Linked DNA regions of Homo sapiens: all the other regions are linked to region 5. The links are contacts of gene promoters, found by promoter capture Hi-C in blood cells and fetal thymus (Javierre and others, 2016). All regions are on one chromosome and are shown on one strand. Each heading gives the region's core, a stretch centred on a gene start or on the middle of the fragment in contact. The rest is flanking DNA. Distances are from core to core; before and after follow the strand shown.

Region 1 (3,806 bases), core at 1,110-3,609, 780 kb after region 5:
GGGTTTCGTCTTGCTGTTCAGGCTGATCTCAAACTCCGGACCTCAGATGATCCACCCGCCTCAGCCTTCCAAAGTGCAGGGATTACAGGCATGAGCCACCACTCCCAGTCAATCAACTGTTACTTTACTCAAAAGCTAAAGTCTTTGAGCGATTATGAAGCCCCTACCTGCTCCCCTGGCTCACTCCTTTCAAACCATGCTTGCTTCCTTGCATTCTTCCAACTCAGCAGCTAGACTCTCATCTTCCCACATTCACAAGGGCCATGTCCTCTGTTGGGACTGCTCATCCCCAATATATTTGTCTGGCTAACTCCTTCTCCTCCTTAAGTCTTTGCTCACGTATTTTCCCCTCAAATGATACCTACACCCTCTATAGAGTCACTCACATCCATACTGCTTATCTTTTAAATTTTTCCACAGTAATTATTTTTGAATAAGCAGTTACAGAGTTCTTACTATAAGCCAGATATTCCAGCACTATTGCCTTGTCTATTTTATAGGTCATAAGAAAATGAGGCACAGAGAGGGTAAATAACTTACCCAAGTCACACAGTTGGGAAGTGGTGGGGCTAAGGTTTGAATTCGGACAGTCTAGCTCTAGGAGTAATGCTTTTATAACTTTGTTTTGCTGCACTCATCACCTTCTAACCCACAAGGGAACATTCTTCCGTATTACATTTATTGCTTATTGTCTGTTTCTCCCTGCTAGCATGTAAGCTTCAGAGGGTAAAAATCTTTCTTTTGTTCACAAGTATTTACCAAACACCGAGAATGATACTTGATATATTGTTGGTACCCAATAATTATTCTTTGAATAAATAATACATTTGAAGATTGAGGGTCTGCTCTCCAGCTTGAGATACATTATTTCGGCTTCATTGTCAAGAACTTTCACTTCTCAGGAACCTCAGCTTTACTCCATGTGGCTTCAGGCAGAGTAGAATGAGGAGAAACAAAATTCTAATCCAGACATTTTATTCCAGCCTATAATTTTTGAATGCAGGAAATTTCCTCAGAGGTGCTGCTCTTATTTCCCTCTGCTTTTATTATGTTTCTTTTACAACTCCACCCATCCCTCTCTACCCCATAAATGAAGTAGGTAAATGTGAGAGGAATCCAGGAAAAAAAGGAGAAGCAGTAGGGTGTTCACCCTTGTTCTTACACACACCAAAACCACTTAACCTTTTAACGTCTTTTTCTATATGAATTTCGTAGTAGCAACATCAAATAGACAGAGAGATTTTGAATCAGAAAATTGGAACGTGTGCCAGAAATGCTACTGGTTCTTTGCGGTACCCACAATTCAAAGCAAAACAAAGAAAACCTTGTCATCCAGATGTCCTGAAAATGCCAGCAGGGCTGAGTAGAAGCTTGTGGTGCTTCAAAACTTAGTTCATTTTGTAAAGATAGCACGGGGAATATAGAAAGTGCTAGTAGAAACCAATATACATGAAGTCTAATTCTATAGCCCACTCCCACATATAAACATACACACACACTCAGAGTAGCTGCATAGCCATGGTCAAACTCCAAAGCCTTATTTTTGTTCTCTGTAAAAATGGGAGTTATAACTTTTCCTCTGGTATGCTTTGTTGTGAGAAGAAAATAACACACGCATGACTATGAATGTGAAATCATTACACAAATATAATTATGTGGTAAGTATGTCAAAATAATGCACCTTAATATACAAAAAAGCCTAATGAATGAGTACAAAAGTATTTTAATCAGTTCATTGTGTCTTAGGGAAATGCAAACAGTAAAGCAAATAAAATTAATCATCTTCTTTGTTTTTCGTGGCAGAAGAGCTTGGTCCAATAGCTTTTTACAAGGTTGATATGATTCTCTGTTGGTATTTCAGCAGCTGAAAGACAGTTACAGTGAATATTTGTGGATTATAGAATGAATGAAATTTATCTACCTTATTTTGAAGGACAACACTAAAGGAAAGGAAGATAATTAAAGAAGTCCATCTGCATTTTCAACCATCTTCTTCAAATAGTAGTATTTTTGTTGTTGTTGCCAGAACTATATAAAGGTAACAAATGTCACCAACGTGTCATCTCTTTTGGCTCTGATCCATAATGATAACCTGTCCACTCTCTAAAAGAAAGGGAGTTCACTTCAGGTTTCCATATCAGAATACCTTTATAGCAGATACCCTCATTCCATGGTAGTTAAAGCTATGTGTCTTAAAATAACTTCACCCTGATTGAGTTAAACTTTGCAGTGGCTAAGCTGCAACAAACTTCAACCCATTTTCACCTCAGTTTCTCCATTAGTAAAACCAAGATACAACCTTCTCAACTTTGTTTTCCTCATATATGATTACTTTTTAAAGTTTTAAAAAGTACTTTCAGGCCTCTTTACTTACTATGTACTTTGATTTGTTGGAGAAAGATAAGCAACAGTACTGTATGTTTACTATAGCAAGTCATATTAGTAAAAGTTTTGAGCATGGCTAAGATTAAAAATTAAAAAGATTACATGTTTTAAGAAACAGAAGAATCATAAAGAGTCTTTATCAGGCCGGGCACAGTGGCTTATGCCTATAATCACAGCACTTTGGGAGGCCAAGGCAGGTGGATCACCTGAGGTCAGGAGTTCGAGACCAGCCTGGCCAACATGGCAAAACCCTGTCTCTACTAAAAATACAAAAATTAGCCGGGCGTGGTGGCACATACCTGTAATCCCAGCTACTGCAGAGGTTACAGTGAGCCGAGATCACGCCACTGCACTCCAGCCTGGGCAACAGAGTGAGACTCTGTCTCAAAAAAATAAAAAGAGTCTATATCAATGTGAAAGATCACCATGGGTTTGTTATTAACATTTGAAATTGCTATTAAGAATTTGTGGCTGGATGTGGTGTCTCATGCCTGTAATCCTAGCACTTTCAGAGGCAGAGGCAAGAGGGTCATGTGAACCCAGGAGTTAGAGACCAGACTGGGCAACATAGTGAGACCCCCTATCTCTACCAAAGTTTTTTTTTTTTTTTTTTTTTTAATTATCTGGGCCTGGTGGCCTGAGCCTGCAGTCTCAGCTACCCAGGAAGCTGAGGTGGGAGGATCATTTGAGCCCAAGGGTTCAAGGCTGCAGTAAGCTGTGACTGCACCTACTCCAGCCTAGGCAACAAAGCAACACCCTTTCTCAAAAAAAAAAAAAAAAGAAAAGAAAAAAGATTTGTATTACCTTTTTATTTATTAATAAGGCAGAGGGAAACTCTTATACTATTCCTTTGCAATTGTTTCATAGTTAATATACTGCCACTGAAAGCAGGATTGTTAACTAAGCAAAACTCTGGGGGACTCTTCGGTTGGAGGTCCTTAAAGGGAATCACAAGAAGCTTATTACAGGAAATGTTAATGCTGAGAAGCAGGAAATACTAAGGTCCTAATATGAATTGACACAAGATTCAAGCATCTGACAGGAAGAAATCAGCACACATCTAAGCATCAGCACTGGCAGCTGCTTGGGTGAGCTATGCAGCATTATCCCTCTCCAGCAGCACATCTGACCCTAGAAGATAAAGCATGCGAGCCTCCGTGACATGCACAACGCTCAGAACACTTCCTGGCTCTGCCACCTGGAGCAAGTTTCTTGACCTCTCTGGACCTTAATTTCCTCTTTTGCAAAATTGAAACACCAATAACCTCTGCCTCAGAGAGTACGGTTTCAATTATTGCTGTGAAAATTAAGGTGCTAATGCCTATAAACAAAGCAGTATTGTCAGTTTCTGGGAACTTGTAAGCCTCACGACCATTAACTATCAAAACAGAATCCCTCTTTCTCCCCCTTGGAGATTCTGG
Region 2 (3,609 bases), core at 628-3,127, 680 kb after region 5:
AGAAGATAGTGCAGCAATTCCTCAAAGACCTAAAAATAGAAATACCATTCGTCCCAGAAATATCATCGCTGGACATATGCCCAAAAGAATATAAATCATTCTATTATAAATATACATGCACATGTATATTCATTGCAGCACTATTCACAACAGTGAATCAATCTAGATTCAATCTAAATGCCCATTAATTACCAACTGGATAAAGAAAATGTGGTACATATATACCATAGAACACTATGCAGCTATAAAATGAGTAAGATCATGTCCTTTGCAGGGAAATGGATGGAGCTGGAGACCATTATTCTTAGCAAACTAACACAGGAACAGAAAATCAAATACCACATGTTATTACTTACAAGTAGGAGCTAAACAGTGAGAACACATGGACATATAGAGGGAAAAAACACACACTGGCAGCTATCAGAGGGAGGAGGATGGGAGAAGGAAGAAGATCAGGAAAAACTACTATGGGTACTAGGTTTAATACCTGGGTGAAGAAATAATCTGTACAACAAATCCCCATGACACTTTTAGCTATATAGCAAACCTGTACATGTAACCCTGAACTTGAAATAAAAGTGAAAAAAAAGTCATATATATGCTTTAAAAATCAAAATATGTTGTAATTAATAAAGTTCAAATAAAGGTCATTGAAAAGTTTGCAGATTTAATCATTTAAACATTTTACCAAAAAAAGTGAATCATGCTGTGTAAAATCTCTCATGACCTACTTCTTCAACATTTAACTGTACATCTTGAACACCTTTCCATTAAGTATATATACAATAAAACTTTAGTGATTACATATTCCAGACAATTTGTAAGGACAGATATTGTACATAATTATTGTGCCTTCAGGTCACTGCCTTCCTCTGAAATGAAAATGATATGAAATCCTAATTTGATTTGTATTGCTTTGATTACTAGTGAGATTCACCATCTGTTCACACATTTATCAGTCATGTGCATTTCTTCCTTTTGAATTGTTTTGAATTATTAAATGAACCCTTTGCTCATTTATTACTAACTAGTAACAACTTTGTGTGTGTAATAAATATATTAAATAAGTGTCTGCAAAATATCTGCAAACAGTCTTCTTAGGTCATTGTTTTCCTGAAACTCTTAATAGTTCTTACTCCAAAACGTTCAAAGCATTTAGGATATATTTTGGTGCCTGGTGTTGAAAGAGAAATACTTTTACTTATTCAAAAAGTTTTTTTATTCCAAAAGACACAGCTGAAACATTGTTAAGTATTGCTTCTTTTCTCCACTGATTTGAAATTTTACATTTCTTTATACTCAATTCTTAAGTATATTAGAGGTGATTTCTCTATTTCTATTCTGTACTATTAATTAGTTTCTCTGCCCTTTCAACCGTATCACAGATAGTGTAGATACTGCCCTCTCAACCTGCCCAGGGAGAAAGCCCCACAACAATTTGTTTGACCTCCACAGATTTCAAGCTTCACTTGTATCAAGCTAACTGCTTCCAGGAACAGCTACTTGACTCAAGATAGAAAGGTTAGAGTTGGGAGTGTCAGAAAGCATGGCATACTCAAATGCCATCTTCTACTAATTTTTGGCAATCTGGATAATTTATAATACCACATTTCTTAATGTTAAAACAATATGACATTTTTGGAATAAGCTTATTGCAGGAGGTGTCTCCCCACAACAGACTTTGGGATGTGGATTTGTGTGCAGAAAATTTACTGGAGAGCACTCTCAGAATTTGCACTCCCACAGGGGTGAAGAAAGCAGGATTGGGCAGTGAGATAATTTATAACAGGGCCTCAGCAGCTCTGGAGTTGGATGGTCCTTTCGAGTTGACCCAAATTGATTAAAGTGGCCACATCTTTTTATCCACAATAAGCAGTAATTTAAAGAGAACTGCCCCAAGAAGGGAGTATGACTTTGGAAGAGATGTTTAGGGTGACTACAATCAGCCTAGTAAGGGGTTTGTCAATTTTATTGATATTTTATAAAAGTAACTTTTGATAGCATTGATCTCTATTATTTTTCAATTTTCTACTTCACTGATTTCTGCTCTTTGTTATTCCTTCTGTCTACTTGCTTGGACTCAATTTGTATTGTTTTAAAGCTTCTTAAGGTAGAAGCTACTATCATTAATTTCTAGACCTTTCTCCTTTCCCCATATAAACTTTTAAAACTGTGAAGTTCCCTCTATAGATTCCTTTATGTATATCCAATAAACATTTATATATTTTGTTTTCTTTTTTACTCAAATCAAATTTTTTTCTAATTTTTCTTTTAATTTCTTTTTTGACATTGCGTTATTTAGAACTATGTTGTTTATTATCCAAATATTTTGGAATTTGAGGGGTATATTCCTATAGTTGATTTCTAGTTTTAATTGTTATGATCACAGAATATACTTTTGTATGATTTCAGTATTTTAAATGTATTGAGACTTGTTTTATGACCCTGCATATGGTCCTTCTTCATAAATGTCCCATGTGCATTTGAAAAGAATAGGTATTCTATTATTGTGTGAACTGCTCTTTTATTTATTTATTTTTTTGAGACAGAGTCTCACTCTGTCGCCCAAGCTGGAGTGCACTGGCACAATCTTGGCTCACTGCAACCTCCGCCTCTTGGGTTCAAGGGATTCTCCTGCCTCAGTCTCCCAAGTAGCTGGGATTACAGGTGTGCACCACTGTCCCCGCATAATTTCTGTATTTTAGTAGAGACGGGGTTTCACCATGTGGGCCAGGCTGGTCTCGAACTCCTGATATCAAGTAATTCACCCACATCAGCCTCCCAAAGTGCTGGGATTACAGGTGTGAGTCACTGCACCTGGCCTTTGACTGCTCTTTAAATCTTTTACATACTTACATTTATTCTAACTTCTGGTTCTATCAATTACTGAAAACAGAATGTTTATGTCTCTAGAAACAATTGTGAATTTGTCTACTCTTTCAATTCTTATCAATTTTGCATAACGCATTTTGAGGATCTGGCATGAGGCATGTAAGCTAATGTATTGATTGACTCATTTATCTATATTAAAAAGTCCTTCTTTTTCCCTGAAATACTTCTAGTTCTGAGGTCTACTTTGCCTGATATTAATATAGACATTATAAATCTCCTTTTCTTTATGCTTGTATAATACATATTTCCCATCCTTTTAATCTATTTAAAATTATCTATTAATGTTAATATAAAATTAACATTATATTAACATTATTTATAAATCATAATTATTAATAAATCATTAATTATAAAACAATTTAATGTATTAACATTAATAGATTGTTAATTTAATGTTATTAATATATTACTATAACTATAACATTAATATTAATCTTAATGTTTTATTATTAATCTGTTAATGTTAATACATTTACATTAAATTGTTGTATTTATATTTAAGGTGGGACAGCATATATGGCTCTTGAACTTTTATCTATTCTGACCATCTCTGCTTTTAAATTGAAATGTTTAGATCATTTACATTTAATGTAATTTTCAGTATGGTTGGGTTTTAATATACTACCTTGTTATTTCTTTCTTATTAGTCCCATTTGCTTTGATATTTGATTATTTTTGCTTTCTATTTTTTGTTTCTTATTTCCATTTTATCTCCAC
Region 3 (3,792 bases), core at 1,102-3,601, 810 kb after region 5:
GCAATTTCTCCCTAAGATTAATATGTGAATACAGTGTAATTCTCACTTTCAATATAATTTTTTCGTAACTTAACAAGCTGATTCTAAAATTGCATGAAAGAGTACATGAGAAAGAGTAGCAAAGATAATTTGGATAAAAATGAAAAAGAAAGGGTTTGATCTGCTAGTTACCAAAACAGGTATTACTTTTTTAATACAGGGTTACACAGAAATACAAAAACTACAGTAATTATATCTACTATTAATAGAACAATAATAATTAATAGTAAAATGCCCAGGAATGATTCTATGCACATAAGGAAATTTACATTATGATAAAAGTAGAATTTTAAATTAGTAATAAAATGTGGACTATTCATCAAATGGTGTCAGGAGTATCTGCTATTCATTTGGGAAAAAGAATAAAGTTACATTCATACCTCACACATGAAAATACATCTCAGAAAATCTGAAGATCTAAACAACAATAACAATATAACTATAAAATAATTAGAGGAAAATATCAGAGGTACATTTGTTTTGAAGATAGGGATAGCCTTCTTTAGCAAGATGTCAAAACTGAAATTAAAGGAGAAAGAATTTATATATCTGGCATTATCAAAATAAAAACTTCTTTCGGGCAGAGAAGTCATAAACAAAATTAAAGCTCAAGAGATGGATTGGAAAAATATTTGCATGAATATAACAAATGTCTTCGATATTCAAAATCTTTTAAAATTAGGGATTAGTAAGAAAAAGCAAATGTTGCAATAGAAAAAAATGTGCAAAAACATGAATAAGCAATTCACAGAAGAAATACATATATTCAATAAACATAAGAAAAGAAGATAAACTTAACTAGTACTAATAACTAGGAAAATGCAATTTCAAATGTGAGATAGCATGAAAATAAAAAATTTAAAGCTTTATACTGAATGCTGGTAAGGGTGTAGGTTGTCTAGTATTCTACAAGCACTGTTAGGTGCAGCCACTTGAGAGAGCTATTTGACAGAATCAATAAAATAAATGCCTCTTCTTTATAATCTAGCAATTATATCACAATATGTACTGTAGAGAAATGCTTGATCATGTATACAAGGATATACACAGCCACATTGTTTGTAAGAGGGAAAAAGTAGAAACAAACTAAATGTTCTTCACTAGAAAAATGGGTTAACTATGGGTACATCCATTCTCAAGGACAGTATGTGTAGTTAAAAAAAAAATGGGAGAGATGTATAGGAAACAACACGTAGATATCTCCAACATCTATTATTGAATAAAACCAAACACATACGAGAAGTTGTTCAGTGTTACTTTTTATTTAAAATACCTGTGTACACAAAACAACAAAATACTATGATATATATTCTAAGTGAACACACATTTGAATGTGAGTGTTTATCACAAGGTCTGAACAGGTAACACTGTTAAAATTAGTTATTATTTGTAAAACAATTTAAAGCCCATCTGATGTTTTAACTCTTTTTTCAGATAATAAATATATTCTTCAATAAGGTCTTTCCAAAAGTGGCACAAATTATGTTAAAGTAGCCTTTGTTATAGTGTATCTAGATAGGTGAGTGATAGATGAATGACATAAAGCGATAGATATTCCTTGGAAGGTAAGAATAAGCCTCTGTATGTGATTTTCCTACTAATGTCCCTATTCTATTGATAAATGAGATATCATACTATTTCTGGGTTTTAAAATGGCAATTTTGTTAAATTTTTTAAATTACTGAGAAAATACTTTAGAATCAATGTAGTTATGGATACAAGAAATATATGTGGGCGTTTAGGAAGCCAGGACACCCGTAACCTTATTCCAGATGGCCTAATAGTTTACACGCAAGACTATGTTTGAAATGCTACTTTTTATGCACAAGTAGTGAAACTAACAACGTAATAGCAGCTTGTGAACATTTTCATGCTAGTCAAAACCTCAAATGTAAGGAAAAAATGATAAAATGTCCTTTATTTATGTAAAGTACATCAGGCATTCACACTTTAGAAATATTGCTTTTTAAAACGTGGTTCAAAACAGCTCTAATGGATCACCAGGGAAAAGATGATGAAAACAGAGATTCAATTCAACAGGTGTTAATGCTGTGCATTTTTCAGCAGTACTGGTGTTTGCAGCAAGAAATAGAAATTAAACGGATACTTCTAAGTCTTAAGAAGGCTGCACATCCTCTGGTTCTTTCATACTAGTATAACATTGTAAAGTCCATTAAAACTTTAGGAAATAGACGTTGCTAGTATTCAAATAATAACATTTAAGTAAGCAAAAATAATATAGATTTCATTAGGTACTTAAGAAGGTCATTTAAAATGTCACAATAGAAATTATACTTAAAAAATAAGAATATGTGACCTCAGGAAGCTAGGTGAGGTGGTGTGCACCTGTAACCCAAGCTACTCCAGAGGCTGAAGCAGGAGGATCTCGAGCCTGTGTTCAAGCCTGTAGTGTGCTATGATCATACCTATATGCATTCTAGCCTGGACAACATAGTGAGACCCCCATCTTGAAAAAAAATGGAAAAAAAATTAATTGTGACCTCAGGAAATAAGAAAAAGTTCTTAGGAGTATTATTAGAAGGATTTTAGAAAAAAAAACTTTGAGAAATAGCAGAATTTTTTTTTTCTGGAAGGAAATAAAAGTTCTAACTCTGTGAACAAGGACATATAAGAAAGACACAGTGATGAGAATCTAGGTTGAATTTTTCAGTTATTAAGGAAAATAAGTTGAAAAAGTGACCTCTAGTGGGCTCTTAGCTTCACTGATAAAGTAGGCTCTTTTCATGTTTGAATAAATATAAGTTTTTATTATAAATATAAATGGCTAAGGGCATAGAATCTGGATAACATATTTTAAAAACACTCTTAGTAACATAATGTATTTATTTGGATTGCTTTCCAAATTTAAAAATCATTGCTTCAAAAGGATTTCACAAATTATCTTAATATGATCTAATATGTTTAAAATAAGATAAACTGTAAAAACTACTTTTCACACATGGCATGATATTTATTGGTCAAAAATGCATTTCCAATTGGCCTATGACAGATACAAATTAGATTCCTGAGAAATGAGTGATGGAATCTCATCAGCACATGCATTTCTGGGACTGATGTTTCATTTCTTTTGCCTTTCATATAGCTGGTCTGTGGCACACCTCTCCAAGACTGACCAGACAGCACATGCTGGTTTCCCGAATTCTAAAATAAGATTAATCCTCTGCAGCAGTCCAGATCCTCTGCTGCTGAACAAGTGCCATAAACCAGCCCCAGTTGCTTCCTCACTTCAGGATCTTAAAGGAAATCTATTTACAAAGCTCACGTTGAAAACAAGATGTTGATTTATGGCGGTGTAATGAAATAGTAAAAATAGAAGAGATCTTCATTAAGATAAAGATGCAATTTCTCTTAAAAGGCATCATAAATTATGTTTTTTTTAAAGATAGCTGTCTTTTCCAAAGAGTAAAATAAAAAGTAAGATGATATTTATTACAGAAAATGAGAAATATCTTCACAAACTATGTTTTCATTTAAACATAAAAATCCCAAGCAAGTTCTAAAGAGCATGTGGAAATATGCTGAAACATCTTGAACTATCATTTTATTCTCTTCCTAACATAGGAAAATTGTCATAAGGTTAGGGAATTTTTTAGAAGCTGAACTTTATAGATCTTCCCCAACTAAATATTGTCGTTTTATAGTATTAGTGAGGTTTCAGTAACTGTTGAAAACTTCTGCTAGTTCAGCTCCATACTTACTTGGAGAAATATGAATATAAAATGGGGGTGTGTA
Region 4 (3,846 bases), core at 1,263-3,762, 640 kb after region 5:
AAACAGAGAATCACTGTACAATTGCATAAAATATTTTCTTTTTTTAATATCCTGATTCTATAGGCATTTTTCTATTTTTAAAATTTGTATTTTATTTTTTGCTTTTAAAACTTTTTTGTTAAAAAACTAAGACATAAACATTATGCTCACACATTAGCCTAAGCCTACACAGGGTCAGGATCATCAATATCACTGTCTTCCCTCTCCAAGTCTCATCCCACTGGAAAGTCTTCAGGGGTAATAACAGCCATAGAGCTGTCATCTCCTATGATAACAATACCTTCTTCTGGAATATTTCCTGAAGGACCTGCCTGAGGCTGTTTTACAGTTAACTTTTTTTAATAAGTAGAAGGAGTGCACTTTAAAATAATGATAAATAGTATATTAAATACATAAACCAGTAAAATAATCATTTGTTAATATTATCAAGTAGTATGTACTATACACAATTATATATGCTACACTTTTTTTTTCATTTTTGAGATAGGGTCTGTATTAGTCCATTCTCATGCTGCTAATAAAGACATACCCAAGACTGGGTAATTTATAAAGGGAAGAAGTTTAATTGACTCACAGCTCAGCGTGGCCGGGAAGGCCTTAGGAATCTTACAATCATGGCAGAAGGGGAAGCAAACACATCCATCTTCACATGACGGCAGCAAGGAGAAGTGTCAAGTGAAGGCAGGGAAAAGCCCATTAATAAAGCCATCAAATCTTGTGAGACCTCACTCACTATCATGAGAACAGCATGGAGGAACCACTCCCTTGATGTAATCACCTTGCACAAGATCCCACCTCCAACACATGGGGATTACAATTCAAATTACAATTCAAGATGAGGTTTGGGTGGGGACACAGCCGAACTATACTATTCTGTCCCTGGCACCTCGCAAATCTCATGTCCTCACATTTCAAAACACAATCATGCCCTTCCAACAGTCCCCCAAAGTCTTAACTCATTCTAGTATTAACCCAAAAGTCCAAGCCCAAAGTCTTATCTGAGACAAGGCAAGTCCCTTCCACCTATGAGCCTGTAAAATCAATAGCAAGTTAGTTACTTCTTAGATACAATGGAGGTAAAGGCATCTGGTAAATACACCCATTCCAAATGGAAGAAATCGGCCAAAATGAAAGGGCTACAGGCCAAAGAAAGGCCTGTAAGGCCGAAAAGGTCTAAGTCAGAAATCCAATAGGGAAGTCATATCTTAAATTTCCAAAATGACCTCCTTTGACTCCATGTCTCAAATGCAGGTCACGAGGTCCAAAATGATCTCCTTTGACTCCATGTCACACTGATGCAAGAGATGGGCTCCCATGGACTTGGGCAGCTCCACCGCTGTGGCTTTTTGGGGTACACACCACTTCCTAGCTTTCTTCACTGGCTGACATTGAGTGTCTGTGGCATGTCCCACCATGCCTGGCTAATTTTGTAATTTTTGTAGTGATGGGGGACTCACTATTTGCCCAGGCTGGTCTCAAACTCCTGGGATCAAGCAGTAGTCCCATCTTAGCCTACCAAAGTGCTAGGATTAAAGGCATGAGCCACCACACCCAGAATCTGTGCCATAATTTTATATGACTGGCAGCACAGCAGTTTCTTTACACCAGCATCACCACAAACATATGAATAATGCATTGCACTATGACATCACCAAGAAATAAGAATTTTTCAGGTTCATTATAATCATATGGGACCACCTTGCATACGCAGTCTGTCATTGATCAAAATGTTGTTATACAGTGTGTGACTGTTATGAAAAAGTGCTCAACATCACTAGTCATCAGGGAAAGCAAATCGGAACCACAATGAGATAACACTTCACACCTGTTAGAATGGCGATTATCAAAAAGACAAAAGATAACAAGCTTTGGCAAGTATGTGGAGAAAAGGGAATCCTTGCATACTATTGGTAGGAATACAAATTGGTATAGCCATTATGCAAAATACTATGAAGATTCTCAAAAAATTAAAAATAGAACTACCACATAATCCAGCAATCCAAGTTCTGAGTATACAAGGAAATGAAATTATCATGTTGAAAAGATATCTGCACTCCCATATTCACTGCAGCATTATTCACAAGAACCAAGATATAGAATCAACCTAAGTGTCCATCAATAGATGAATGCATAAAGAAAATGCAGGATATATGTGTGAGTGTATATATGTGTATATGTATATATATGTGTGTATATATGTGTGTGTGTATACATATATACATATATACATGTGTGTACATACATATATACATATATACATGTGTGTACATACATATATACATATATACATGTGTGTACATACATATATACATATATACATATGTGTGTATATACATATATGCATATGTGTGTATATACATATATACATATATGTGCGCATATACATATACATATATGTGTATATACATATATACATATACATATATGTGTGTATACATATATACATATACATATATGTGTATATGTATATATACATATATACATATGTGTGTATATATACATATATACATATATACATGTATGTGTGTATACATATATACATATATACACATATATGTGTGTATACATGTATACATATATACATATGTGTGTACATACATATATGTGTATACATATATACATATATACATATGTGTGTATACATATATACATATATACATATATGTGTGTATACATATATACATATATACATATATGTGTGTATACATATATACATATATACATATATGTGTGTATATATACATATATATAGAGAGAGAGAGAGGAGAGAATTGCTCAGTCTTTAAAATGAAGAAAATCCTATCATCTGCAACATCACTATGAACCTGGAGGACATTATGTCAAGTGAAATAAGCCAGGCACAGAAAGACAAATACTGTTTGATCTCACTTATATGTGGAATATAAAAAGTAAAACTCATAAAAGCAGAGAACAGATGGTTGCCAGGGGGTTGGGGGGTAGGGTAAATCGGGAGATGTCAGTCAAAGGGTATACAGTTTCAGTAATCTAGAATGAGTAAGCTCTGGAGATACAATGTACGGAATAGCAACTATAGTTAATAACACCATATTGTATACTTGAAATGTGCTAAGAAAGTAGACCTTAAATATTCTCACCATAAAATAAAGGTATTGTGATGGAAATGTTAATAAGCTTGATTATAATAATCATTTCATAATGTATATGTATTTCAAAACATCACATTGCATACTATAAATATGTATAATTTTTGTCAGTTATACCTCAATAAATCTATGTTAATAATTCTGGAAAAATCACTCTGGTTGTCAATTATTAAACTGGAAACCACCAGGGACTCTGGAGACACTATGCTTCAATTTCAATTCCAGCTCTACTATGTGCTAATTGAAAGACTTTAGGCACTTTCTTAAAATTCTGTGCCTCAATTTCAACATCCATAAAATGTGTTTAAAGAAGTAAATAGTAAATGCTTATATAAGGATTTTAGTACTGTCTGAATATTTGAATGTGCTCAATAAGGTTAGCTATTTTTATTATCAGTTAAGCAATAAAGGCACAAAGTAATGAACTCGGTTAGCCAATGTGGTATCAGAATATGAATCATTCAGTCTATTTTGTTTTCTCAATGATAGAGTCAAGCCTTTCTCCTCAAATAAACATTTCGGCTAAAGTATCTTGACCTGATGCAACTAAAACAAAATATATTCAATTTTTTAATTTACTCCTCAAATACCATTCAATTTCTGATCTGGTCTTTGGCCACTGTAAGCACAGGTCTCTTGCTTGGACTACAATGTTCCACAGCTGCAAATTGCCTTAATTTTTAATTTCCCAGGTGTGGGATCAGAACTATGATAATGGAGT
Region 5 (3,540 bases), core at 144-2,643:
GGGAAGGAGAAAAGGAGAGGGGAAGGCGTCTTATTCAAGTATGATTTCTCTCGGGTCCTGGCATTGGCATAAAATGGCATCTGCCTCTTAGTAAACATGGCTAAAGCCCAGTCCAAAGGAATTTCCGCTGGCCGATTTAGGAATCAACAGAATAAGGTACCCTAGAGGTGCTCCAGTCACTCAGGGCAGGAGGCCTCACAGGCATGGGGTGTCGCCCCTTCCCTTTTTCCACGAAGCTCCTCCAGCCTACCCCTCCACTGCTCCGCGCCTTCATTCTATTTCCCCCTCTCACTTTGGATTTGAAAACTGGGCTTACAGGAGATGCAGCTGGCGACACGCGGGGTGTGACTGGACGGAGGAATCCAGAGGGCAGCTGAGGAGGGCGGAGAAAGGTCCCTAGGCAGCGCCACCAAGCAAGGGGCAGACAAGGAAGCTGTGGGGGGTCCCGGGAGAAAGCTGGGGCGGGACCGCGGGAAGGGAGTCTCACCTCGCGCACTCACCTGCTGCTGCCGCCCGAAAGCTGCGAACCGTGTTGCCTTCGCGCAGGAGCCGAGGGCGCCAGGGCTGCGAGCCTCCCTCCAGGGAGCCCGGTGTCCGGGCCGCCTGGACCGTGCTGTACCTGTCATAGAGCCGCAGCATGTGTTCAGAGACCTTGTCTTGCGGCTGCAGCTCGGAGTCCGGGCCACCACCTGCCGTGCGGTCACCTGGCACAGCTTTGCGGAGCTCCGGGAAAGGTGGCTTCGGTCTCTCTCCCTGCGCCAGGCTCACGCAGAAGCAGCCCAGCCACAGAAAGAGCAGCCTGCTCGCCCCAGCCATGGCTAGGTACCCGCGCGGCGCGTCGGCTCCCGGCGTCGCTGCGGGACACTCCGAAGGCGCAAGGAGCCGGCGGCGGAGCCGAGGGTTGAACTCCAAACCAGCTGGGGCGAGGGCGCACGGAGCCCGGGACGCGGCCGGGTGCAGCGAGATAGCGGCCAGCCCCACTTGCTGCGCTGACCCAGCGCAGCCTGACAGGTGGGCTCTTCCCCAGCAGCTGCGCGGACCTCACCCGCGCAGGGCGCTGCGGGCGCCGTCTCCACTCCAACGCTGAGAAAGAGCTGTAGGTCGCGGCGTGTGTGGCCCGGGTGTTTTCAAGATCTGTCTGTACCTTCCCTCCTCGCTTTATTTTTGGGAACACCCGGCCAAACTGGCCGCGCGAGGGACTAGGACTAGCTCTGTTTTGGGCGCCAGGTCGGAGCCGGGGCTGTGCGCAGCGGTCCGGAGGGCGCTCGATTGCCTTTTCCAGGGATTGGAGCAGCTGCGGCGCGGCTGGTCCGAGTTTTTTAGTGTACGTGTGTGTGTGTGTGCGCGCGCGCGCGCGCGTGTGTGCGTGTGTGTGTGTGTATGAGAGAGAGAGACTTAGTTCTTTCGCTCTCTAGCTGATCTGTAGAGTCCTCAGCCAATCTCTCCCACTCCCTCGTCCTCGCCCTCTTAGCTTGCACCAGGCTGGGATAGAAGCAAGGGAGGGGGGGAGTAACCAGAGAACTGGCAGCGGGAGGGAGAGAAGAGGAAGTAGGGGTGGGGATGGCTGGGGAGAGGAAGGGAAAAGGAGATTCAGGACTAAAGAAATGGTAGGAGGGACGGTTTTTTTGTTTTGTTTTGTTTTGTTTTTGTTTGTTTTTTTTTTTAATTCTCCAAGAACAGTGGCTGTGTGGTGGCTAGCAAGAGGGCAGAGGAAAACAGAACTTCTTCCTGGCTTTTCGGTCTTATGATTCCAAACAAAGTCACAACGTGAACACCATTCTCGCTTACTTTCCCGAGCCTCTTCTGACGGACACTGCGGGCCCCTGCACCTGCAGCCCGTCATCATAGCTTCCTGTCTTTCTGAGAGCATACCCATCATAACGCCCCTCTCTCCCGCATCATCTTCTCTCGAGGTGAGAAATATGTGCGAGTCAATATCATGTTAAAAACAAATAAGAAAACAAGCAAACACACCACAACCCCACCTACAGCTTCCCCCAAAGGTTTCCTTCCTACAGGTCCCCAAAAGGTTTCCCAGCAGGATGGTGCAGTGGTGGCTAAAAACAAGGGTGTGTGGAAGATCCCGGAGTCCGGAACAGAATGTAAGAGTCGCTAGCTTTGTCTTCCTAATTCTCTCTTGTCATGGCTGTACAATGGAGATTAAACTATGAGCAGCCTGGCGCAGTGGCTCAGGCCTGTAATCCCAGCACTTTGGAAGGCCAAAGCGGGTGGATCACGAAGTCAGGAGTTCGAGACCAGCCTTGCCAACATGGTGAAACCTCATCTCTACTAAAAATACAAAAATTAGCTGGGCGTGGTGGTGCGCACATGTAATCCCAGCTACTGGGAAGGCTGCGGCAAGAGAATGGCTTGAATCCAGGAGATGGAGGTTGCAGTGAGCCGAGATTGTGCCACTGCACTCCAGACTGGGTGACAGAGCAAACTTTGTCTCAAAACAAAAAACAAACAAACAAACAAAAAACAACTGTGAGCTAACATTTTTCTCCACACTTATGCTCTAGACATGCCTTGTTATTTATATTTCAAGTATATTACCAAATAATTTTCACAGCAAAACCCATTTTACAGATGAGGAAACTGAGGCAAAAGGATACATAGTAAGTGACAGAACTGAGATCCAAATTCAGGGAGTCTGATTTCTGGCCTCAGGCCAGATAACCACACTATTAATAGTGAAATTAGCATTTAAACTGAAGTTTCAGTGTGCAATCCATGTAAATGTTTAGTGCAGTTCTTGACCATATGCAGTAAAATCTTCAGTCAATGTCTATTGCATTTATCCCTCTTCCCCTCTGTAGGGCAATGGAGTTGATCGAAAAGAAGATAGGCTCCTGGAGTCACACCATGTCTCCAGATCTGAGTTTCTTCTTTGATGGTGAATAACAACACATTCCTTTTAGAGTTTTGTTTGGATGACATTAGAAAGCAGTGCTAAAGTGACTGGCGCACTCACTAGCCTTTAATAGGGGCTCAATCCCTTTCTATCCTAAATTTATCCCAAATCCAGACTACATTCTCCCCACTCAGTCACTTCTTAACCCACTGCGGTTTGGATTTTGCCCTTAGCCACCCCGGGAACTGTTCTGCAGATAATAACACATATTTCAAGAGTAGTTGTGAGGATTAAATGAGATCATGTGTTTGATCTTTGCTTGGCATAAAGAACATAATAGCTTTTGTGATTAATAATGAAGATCTAATTGCAAAATTCAATAGGCCCTGGAAACTCTCTCTTTGATTTTTTCCCTGTGAACTATTGGTTGTTTTTCCATTCCTTTCTGCCCTTTCTCAGTTCTGTCAGCTGCCTCCTCTTTCTAGGCCTGCCTCAAGCGTTCCTGACATCTTTACTCTGCCCTTGGAAAATGCCAAATCCAGAAGAAAATTCTTTTTCAGTTCTTCTGCTTTGGTGGTCACCTCTGGCCTTTAAATATATAGTTCTGGGTCCCCCTCAGCTCCAGTCCTCCTTGCCAAAGAAGTTCATCCTCTTCCCCTTTGAAACCATCTTTGAGACTTCCCTCC
Region 6 (3,641 bases), core at 817-3,316, 660 kb after region 5:
GGATTGGGACAAATGAGTAGATGTTTTTGAAAATTTTGACCTTTCCAGATCTCTAAATCTTCTGAGCCTGAAGAAGTAGCCCACTGCTCTTCAGTAAGAGCTAGCAAACCCCCACAACTAGCAGCAGCAATGTAAAGAAAATAGAGGCCTTTCTCCCACATAAAAGCAGGTGTGTGCCTCAGGAGATATCCCCAGTTCCCTTATCAGAGTTACACTTCTGGCCACCAGGCTGATAATATGGTCAAGTCACAGATAGGGACATGGTAGGTCTGATAAGAAAAAAAGGAATATTATCCCACATATACTACAAGACCTAGGACTTGTACCAACAAGACTAGAGGGACTCATTGGACTAGATTCTGGGGATTCTAGGTCAGAGAAAGCAGAAATAAGACTAAATAAGTCAGAGTTTATTCACATGACACTTTCTCAGAACACAGGGCATTGCATTCTGGTACGGACCCCAGAAGATGAGGCAAACTCTGCTAGCGTGACTCCAAGAAACCTGGAACAAGCAATGGCCTACACTGAGTGCAGTTCAAAGGCCTAAATTTCAGAGAGAGACTTTTGAAGAAGAGAGGAAAATGCTCAGGAAAATGGCAATCCTAGAAGAAACATATTGTGTGAGACCAGAAAACTCACCGGAAGATCATGGTCTATAGAAGAACCCAGAAGATAGCCAGTCGTTAATAGCATAAAAAATGTGCTAGTTACTGAAGCATCAGAATCATTAAGAAGTTCAGTGATGGCTCTCCAATGCATTCCAGGGCTGAATGCAGAAAAGCCTTGTTGCATACCTAGGCTACCCTAAGCACAATGGGCATAATAGTACCTTGATGCAACAGAAGCTAAGTGATGGAACTTAACCATAAGACACCAGGGACTTGTAATTATCATAAGGACCAATGATGTAATGTGCCCAATGACCACCAAGGGCACTGCAGAAAGTTATGAAGATGGTTTATAGAACATGGTAATCCTTGAACAAAACAGATGGGCAATCAATAAAGGAATAACTCAATTTGTATCATAGTTAGAAATTAAAGATGGTTACTTGAGGTTGAAGGCAGCCATTCCAGTAAAAAAGCACGATGCACTGCCATATATCATTCAGTTTTTAGACCAAGAACTTGTTGACTAAATATGTGACCACATGCAGTATTCACCATAGCAAGTATTCATTGCAGTGATTCTCTTCTCCCCCAAAGAGACCTATGGGCATTTACTCAAATGAGTACACACAAAGGAAAATGTAATACCCACACAGTTAATGGACTACTGAATCTGCATTCAATCTGCATTCAAGCTGAGACTGGTATCTAGAGATCCAAAGAATCACTGTGGCCCCGCTCTTAGAGTGGAAGCTTATGGGGGTCAGATGAGAAATGGAGTCCTGGCCAAGGGTTAGTTTATCCTAACCCTTGGGGTTAGGTCCACTGTGTCTATGCAAGGGTTAGGTCCACTGTGTCTATGCAGCCACTCAGGGATCATTGACTGAAATGTCTAATTCAGATTGTCATACATGGCAGCTGGCACAACCCCCATGTTGAATCCTGGAGAATAAGTGTAGACTACCACAAGCTCCTCCAAGTAGTAGCCCTAATTGCAGTTGCAGTGCTACTTGCTGGAACAGACTAATGTGTCTTCAGATAGATACTATGTAGCTATTGATTTCGTGAATAAGTTCTTTTCTGCCTCAATTAGGAAATAAAGTCAAAATCAGTTTGATTTCTCATTAAACAGACAATAACATGTATTTACAATTTTGTCTCGGGGTTATGTTTATTCTCCTGTCCTCTGTCATAATGGAATCTGGGCTGGTTGGGCATCCCACAGAACTTCACATTGATTGATTCCATCAGTGACATCACGCTGATTGGAAAGGATGAACAAGAAATGAGTAGTACCTGGCTTTCAAAAGGCATGGTCACTCCAGAGGAGGGCAGATAAACCCTACAAAGCTCTGGGGGCCTGCCACTTCATACATTTTCCCTGATATACTACAGCCTTACTCAATGTGTTAGTTCTCTAGGACTGCTATAATAAAGTATCACAGAGAGGATGGCTTAAAACAGAAATATATTTTCTCACAACTCCAGAGTTTGGCTTTTCTCCTCTTCGGCCTTAGCCAGCACTGCTATCTGGGGACTCATTGAACGCCTGCTACACAAGCATCAAATCCAATACAAAGTTGCATCCCGACCAGGGAACCCATTCGTATGGTTTGAATCTGCATTCCCACCAAGTCTCATGCCAAACTGTAATCCCCAGTGTTGGAGGTGAGGCCTGTTGGGAGGTGATTGGATCATGGGGGCAGATTTCCCCATAGTACTGTCCTTGTGACAGTGAGTTCTTGTGAGATCTGGTTGCTTAAAAATGTGTGGCACCTCCTCCATCTCTCTCTTCCTCCTGCTAAGTCTGTGTGAAATGCTGGCTTCCCCTTCACCTTTCAGCAGATTGTAAGTTTCCTGAGGTCTCTCTAGAAACTGAGCAAATGTTGCCCTGTTTCCTATACAGTCTGAAGAATCATGAGCCAATTAAACCTCTTTTCTTTATAAATTACCCAGTCTTAGTTATTTCTTTATAGCAATGCAAGAATGGACTGATACAGAAAATGGGTACTAGGTGTTGGGTATTGCTATAAAGATAATAGAAAATGTGGAAGCAGCTTTGGAACTGGGTAATGGGCAGAGGTTTGAAACTGGATAATGGGAAAAATGTGGAAGACCCAGATGAAGACAGGAAAATGAGGGGAATCTTAAAGCTTCCTAGATACTTGTTGAATGATTGTAACCAAAATGCTGATAGTGATATGAATAGTGAAGGTAGGCTGAAGTGGTCTCAGATTGAAAGAGGCAACTTATTAGAAACTAGAGCAAAGATCACTTTGTTATGTCCTAGCAAAGAACTTGGCTGCATTGTGCCCTGGCTCTAGGGATCTGTGGAACTTTTAATTTGAGAATGATGATGTAGAGTATTTGGCAGAAGAAATTTCTAAGCACAAAGCATTCAGGATATGTCCTGGCTGCTTGTAAAAACCTATGTTCATATGTGTGAGCAAAGACATAATCTAAAACTGGAACTTATATTTAAAAGAGAAACAGAGTATAAAAGTTTGGAAAATTTGCAGCCTAGCCATGTGATAGAAAAGAAAAACTCATTTTGGGGGGAGAAATCCAAGCAGGCTGCAGAAATTTGTATAACAAAAAAGGAGCCAGGTGCTAATAGCCAAGATAATGGGGAAAAGGCCTCAAAAGGCATTCCAGAGACCTTCGTGGCAGCCCCTCCCATCACAGGCCTGGAGGCCTAGGAGGACTGAACAATTTTATGTGTTAAGCCCAGTGCCCCGCTATCCTGTGCAGTTTCAGGACACCAGTCCCTGCATCCCAAACCCCAGCCACCCCAGCTCCAGCTGTGGCTCAAAGGGGCTCAGGTATAACTCAGGCCATTGTTCCAGAGGATGCAAGCCATAGCCTTGATGGCTTCAATGTGGTGTTAGGACTACAAGTGCACAGAATGGAGGAGTTGAGGCTTGGGAACCTCTACTCAGATTTCAGAGGATATATGAAAAAGCCTGGATGTCCAGGCAAAACCCTGCGGCAGGGGCAGAACCCTCATGGAGAACCTCTTCTAGGGCAGTG
Region 7 (3,783 bases), core at 1,180-3,679, 710 kb after region 5:
AGGTCTGGAAAAGCACAGGGTGAAAGATGGCAAAGAACAGGGAAATTTTAGTTTAGAAGTGCAACAGCTCACTTAGAGCAGAGCTTTAGGAAAGCAGAATCCAAAACCACTGTGACTAATACACTTTTCAAATTTATTAAGTAGAAAGATGCACAGGCAAAAGAGAGACAAGAAGCAAACAGAATCGGCTCTTACAGCAGCAATTCAGGATTCTGGTGCAGTGCCCTAAGATCATTTTCATAGCTGGGTAAGAATGATATGTTGTAAATGTATAACTCATAGGTAAAATAATACTTTCTGAAAATAGTATTTTCTGCTGAGATGTCAACAACAACAAAAATGGATATGGGGTTACACCAACTGTTTCTCAGGATAGGGTGCACCTGTTTTAAAAGGAAAAATGTCTAAAGAATTTGTTCTCCTATTTCATATCTCTTGACCTTTTCAACCATTAACTTCACAATGCTAATAAGTCACAAACCAAGTTTAAATGAATCTATTTTGGAAGTGCACTGGACATTTGCTCATCCATACCAAATAAAGTCCTTTTCAAAAAAAAAAAAAAAAACCAGCCTAAAAATTTAAGGTTATTTTGCACACATAAAACTGAAAAACCCATGTGGAGAGGGCTGAATACTTAATACCAAAATTGTATAACTGTTGCCTCAGAAGTAATACTGTTTTTGGCAAAAGCTTCATTGAAATATAACTCACAATACCACACAATTCGCAAATTTACAGTCTATAATTCAATAGTTTTTAGTACATTCACAGAGTTGTCCACCCAATTAACATAATCAGTTTTAGAACATTTTAGCATCCCCCAAAGAAACCCTGTACTCCAGTTTTCACCTCCCAAAACACCCGAACTCCCACCCCCAGCCCCAGGCAACCACAAATCTACATTCCATCTCTACAGATTTTCCTATCTTGAACATTTTATATAAATAGAATCATGTAACATGTGTTTTTTTGGACTGAATTGTTTCTCTTAATATAATATTTTAACCAACTTGTAGCAAGTATCCGTACTTCATACCTATTACTGGTTGAAAATGTCCCATTATATAGATATACCACATTTTGTTTATCCATTCATCAGCTGATAATCATTTGGGTTGATTCCATCTCTTGGCTATTATGAATAATGCTGCTATAATATCAATGTACACATTTTTGCGTGGACATATGTTTTCATTTTTCTTGGGTATATACCTAGGAGTGTAACTGACGGGTCAAATGATAGCTCCATGTATACATTTTTGAGGAACCACCACACTGCTTTCCAAACTAGTTGCACTATTTTATATTCCTACCAGCAGTTTAGAAGGGTTCCAACATTTTCACATCTTGTTAACACTTGTTATTCTCAGACTTTTGATTATAACCAACCAAGTGAATGTGAAGCGGCATCTCATCGTGGTTTTGATTTGCATTTTCCTGATGACTAAAAATATTAAACATTTCTTCATGTGCCTTTTGGCCATTTGTGTATCTTTGTTGAAAAAATGTCCCTTCATATTCTTTAACCATTTTTCAACTGGGTTGTCTTTTTATTATTGAATTGTACAAGTTATTTCCATATTCTTGATATGATCTCCCTATCAGATATGTTTTGCAAATAATTTCTGTCATTCTGAGGGTTGTCTTTTCACTTTTTTGATAATAACATTTGAAGCACAAAGGGTTTTAATTTTGATAATCCAATTAATGTATCTTTTTTCTTTTGATGTTCATACTTTTGTAATGCATCTAGAAAACCATTGCCAAATCCAAGGTCATGAAAATTTATCCTTATGTTTTCTTCTAAGAGTTTTATAGTTTTAGCATTCATATTTAATTATTTGATGCACTTCAAGTTGATTTTCATATGGGGTATGAGGTAGTAGTCCAACTTTATTCTTTTTCCTGTGACTATCCGGTTGTCTCAGCACAATTTATTGAACAAACTCTTCTTTCCTCATTGAATGGTCTTAGCACCCTCAGTGAAAATCAATTGACCACAAATATATGGGTTTATTTCTGGACTCTCGATGCTATTCTATGGATCTACATGCATATTCTTACGCCAATATTGTCTTGATTACTATTGCTTCATAGTAAATTTTGAAATTGGAAAGTGCAACTCCTCCCACTTTCTTCTTTTTTAAAATTACTTTGGCTATTCTAGGTCCTTTGAGTTTCCGTATGCATTGTAGGATCCACAAAGAAGCCAGCTGGGATTACGATAGGGATTGCGTTGAATCTATAAATCAATTTGGGGAATAGTGCCATCTTAACAATATTAAGTCTTCCAATCCATGAATACAGAATATATTTCTATGTACTTAGATTTTTAATTGCTTTCAATAATGTTCTATAGTTTTCAGAGTATTAGTGTCACACTTCTTTTGTTAAATTTATTCCTCAGAATTTTATTCTTTCTGAGGTTATTGTAAATGAAATTGTTTACTAAGAATTTTATTCCTTTTGAGGTTATTGTAAATGAAATTGTTTACTCTATTTCATTTTTGGACTGTTTATTGCAAATGTGGAAATATTATTGATTTTTACATATTGATTTGTATGTCATGATCTAGCTGAGGTTGTTAGTCACAGATTTTTAGTGGATTATTTAGAATTTTCTATATATATATATATAGAAAACTATGTCATCTCAAATAGAGATAGTTTTATTTCTTAATAATGCTTTTTTAAAATAATTATTTAAAATGTTTTGGCCTTAAGTCAAACAGTTGCAGGTACTATATTCAGATGTAAGAACTTAGTTATCTGGATTTGTCATCTGGTGAAAATCTAGTTTTCACTAATACAGTCATATGTTGCTTAATGACAAGGATACATTTTGAGAAATGCATTGTTAGGTGGTTTTGTCATTGAGCAAACATCATAGAGTGTACTTACACAAACCTAGATAGTATAGCCTCCTACACACCTAGACTCTATGGTATAGCCTATTGCTCCTAGGCTACAAACCTGTACATGTTACTGTACTGAATACTGTAGGCAATTGTAACACAATGGTAAGTATTTTTGTATCTAAACATATCTAAACATTAAAAAAGTTTAGTACAAATATTGTATTATAATCTTATGGGGCCACCATTGTATATGTGATCCATCATTGTCTGAAACGTTGCTATGAAGTGCATGATGTATATGATTATCTCTAATAAAACATTTTTTCTTCTTTTTGTTTTCTGTTCTTTAAAATAAATTGTTTGGACAATTGTTTCCTTTGACTACTATACTTCTACATAGTAAAACTCTTACTTTCCTGCTAAAATAAAGCTGTTGTTACTATTTATTCTGAGAAGATTATATTACCTAACCAATCACAGGACCAGTAGTCTTTGCTTCCATAAAATTAGACAAGTTTCTCTATAACATGATTTTACATAGCAATCAAAAGTATAGAAAACTGTTAGTCTCATCACTGAGAGTAAGTGGCAATAAGTTTGCAGCAATATCAATAACACAACAGAACATCTGTCTGCAAAAGGCAAATTAAATTATTAATGTAGGTATCCCCCACATCATAAAATGTAAATACTTACCATGTATGGCTACTTTCTCCCTTCTACATAGAAATCTGCTTCTGCAATCACTTTGCTACAGATTGGGTTAAAAAATAAAAACTGCCCACATTTGGCACAAAGCTGATACCAAAGTAATAAAAATTAGTCAATAATTATATAACTGGTTCTGGGAACACTACGAAACTTTTAGCAAGTCTGTTTCTGTCCAAAATCCATGTATTATCCACATATGGTTGTATTTGTT

Evidence for each region. Contacts are between HindIII fragments. The CHiCAGO score rates a contact against its expected background, and 5 or more counts as called.
Region 1: a contact is called between a fragment that was not itself captured here and the fragment with the promoter of BMP3 in region 5, in 3 of 17 cell types (total CD4 T cells, naive CD8 T cells and total CD8 T cells). The highest score is 6.1, in total CD4 T cells.
Region 2: a contact is called between a fragment that was not itself captured here and the fragment with the promoter of BMP3 in region 5, in 15 of 17 cell types (naive CD4 T cells, activated CD4 T cells, total CD4 T cells and 12 more). The highest score is 25.5, in naive CD4 T cells.
Region 3: a fragment that was not itself captured here is called in contact with the fragment with the promoter of BMP3 in region 5 in 1 of 17 cell types (M1 macrophages); the score reaches 5.7 in M1 macrophages.
Region 4: a fragment that was not itself captured here is called in contact with the fragment with the promoter of BMP3 in region 5 in 14 of 17 cell types (total B cells, total CD8 T cells, naive B cells and 11 more); the score reaches 11.0 in total B cells.
Region 6: a fragment that was not itself captured here is called in contact with the fragment with the promoter of BMP3 in region 5 in 16 of 17 cell types (total B cells, naive B cells, naive CD4 T cells and 13 more); the score reaches 25.1 in total B cells.
Region 7: a contact is called between a fragment that was not itself captured here and the fragment with the promoter of BMP3 in region 5, in 7 of 17 cell types (activated CD4 T cells, naive CD4 T cells, naive CD8 T cells and 4 more). The highest score is 9.7, in activated CD4 T cells.

The regions. Positions count from the first base shown.
Region 1 is chr4:80,253,423-80,257,228 of GRCh38, reverse strand. It overlaps LOC124900725 (a long non-coding RNA gene), which reads right to left. Exons shown (of 2, transcript XR_007058161.1): 2 at 1,708-1,864. Among named protein-coding and RNA genes, the nearest start is that of FGF5, 11 kb to the left of the region's middle. The HindIII fragment of the contact is 1,973 bases long and covers 1,373-3,345 here.
Region 2 is chr4:80,351,500-80,355,108 of GRCh38, reverse strand. All of the region lies in intron 1 of CFAP299 (cilia and flagella associated protein 299), which reads right to left. Among named protein-coding and RNA genes, the nearest start is that of CFAP299, 18 kb to the right of the region's middle. The HindIII fragment of the contact is 453 bases long and covers 1,651-2,103 here.
Region 3 is chr4:80,220,302-80,224,093 of GRCh38, reverse strand. No RefSeq gene overlaps it. Among named protein-coding and RNA genes, the nearest start is that of PRDM8, 25 kb to the right of the region's middle. The HindIII fragment of the contact is 2,891 bases long and covers 906-3,792 here.
Region 4 is chr4:80,389,397-80,393,242 of GRCh38, reverse strand. The region is part of intron 2 of CFAP299 (cilia and flagella associated protein 299); the gene reads right to left. Among named protein-coding and RNA genes, the nearest start is that of CFAP299, 56 kb to the right of the region's middle. The HindIII fragment of the contact is 1,287 bases long and covers 1,869-3,155 here.
Region 5 is chr4:81,028,561-81,032,100 of GRCh38, reverse strand. It overlaps BMP3 (bone morphogenetic protein 3), which reads right to left and starts at 1,393. Exons shown (of 3, transcript NM_001201.5): 1 at 501-1,393. The coding sequence starts at 816. The HindIII fragment of the contact is 6,285 bases long and covers 1-3,540 here.
Region 6 is chr4:80,370,949-80,374,589 of GRCh38, reverse strand. The region is part of intron 2 of CFAP299 (cilia and flagella associated protein 299); the gene reads right to left. Among named protein-coding and RNA genes, the nearest start is that of CFAP299, 37 kb to the right of the region's middle. The HindIII fragment of the contact is 1,400 bases long and covers 1,367-2,766 here.
Region 7 is chr4:80,315,131-80,318,913 of GRCh38, reverse strand. No RefSeq gene overlaps it. Among named protein-coding and RNA genes, the nearest start is that of CFAP299, 19 kb to the left of the region's middle. The HindIII fragment of the contact is 3,468 bases long and covers 696-3,783 here.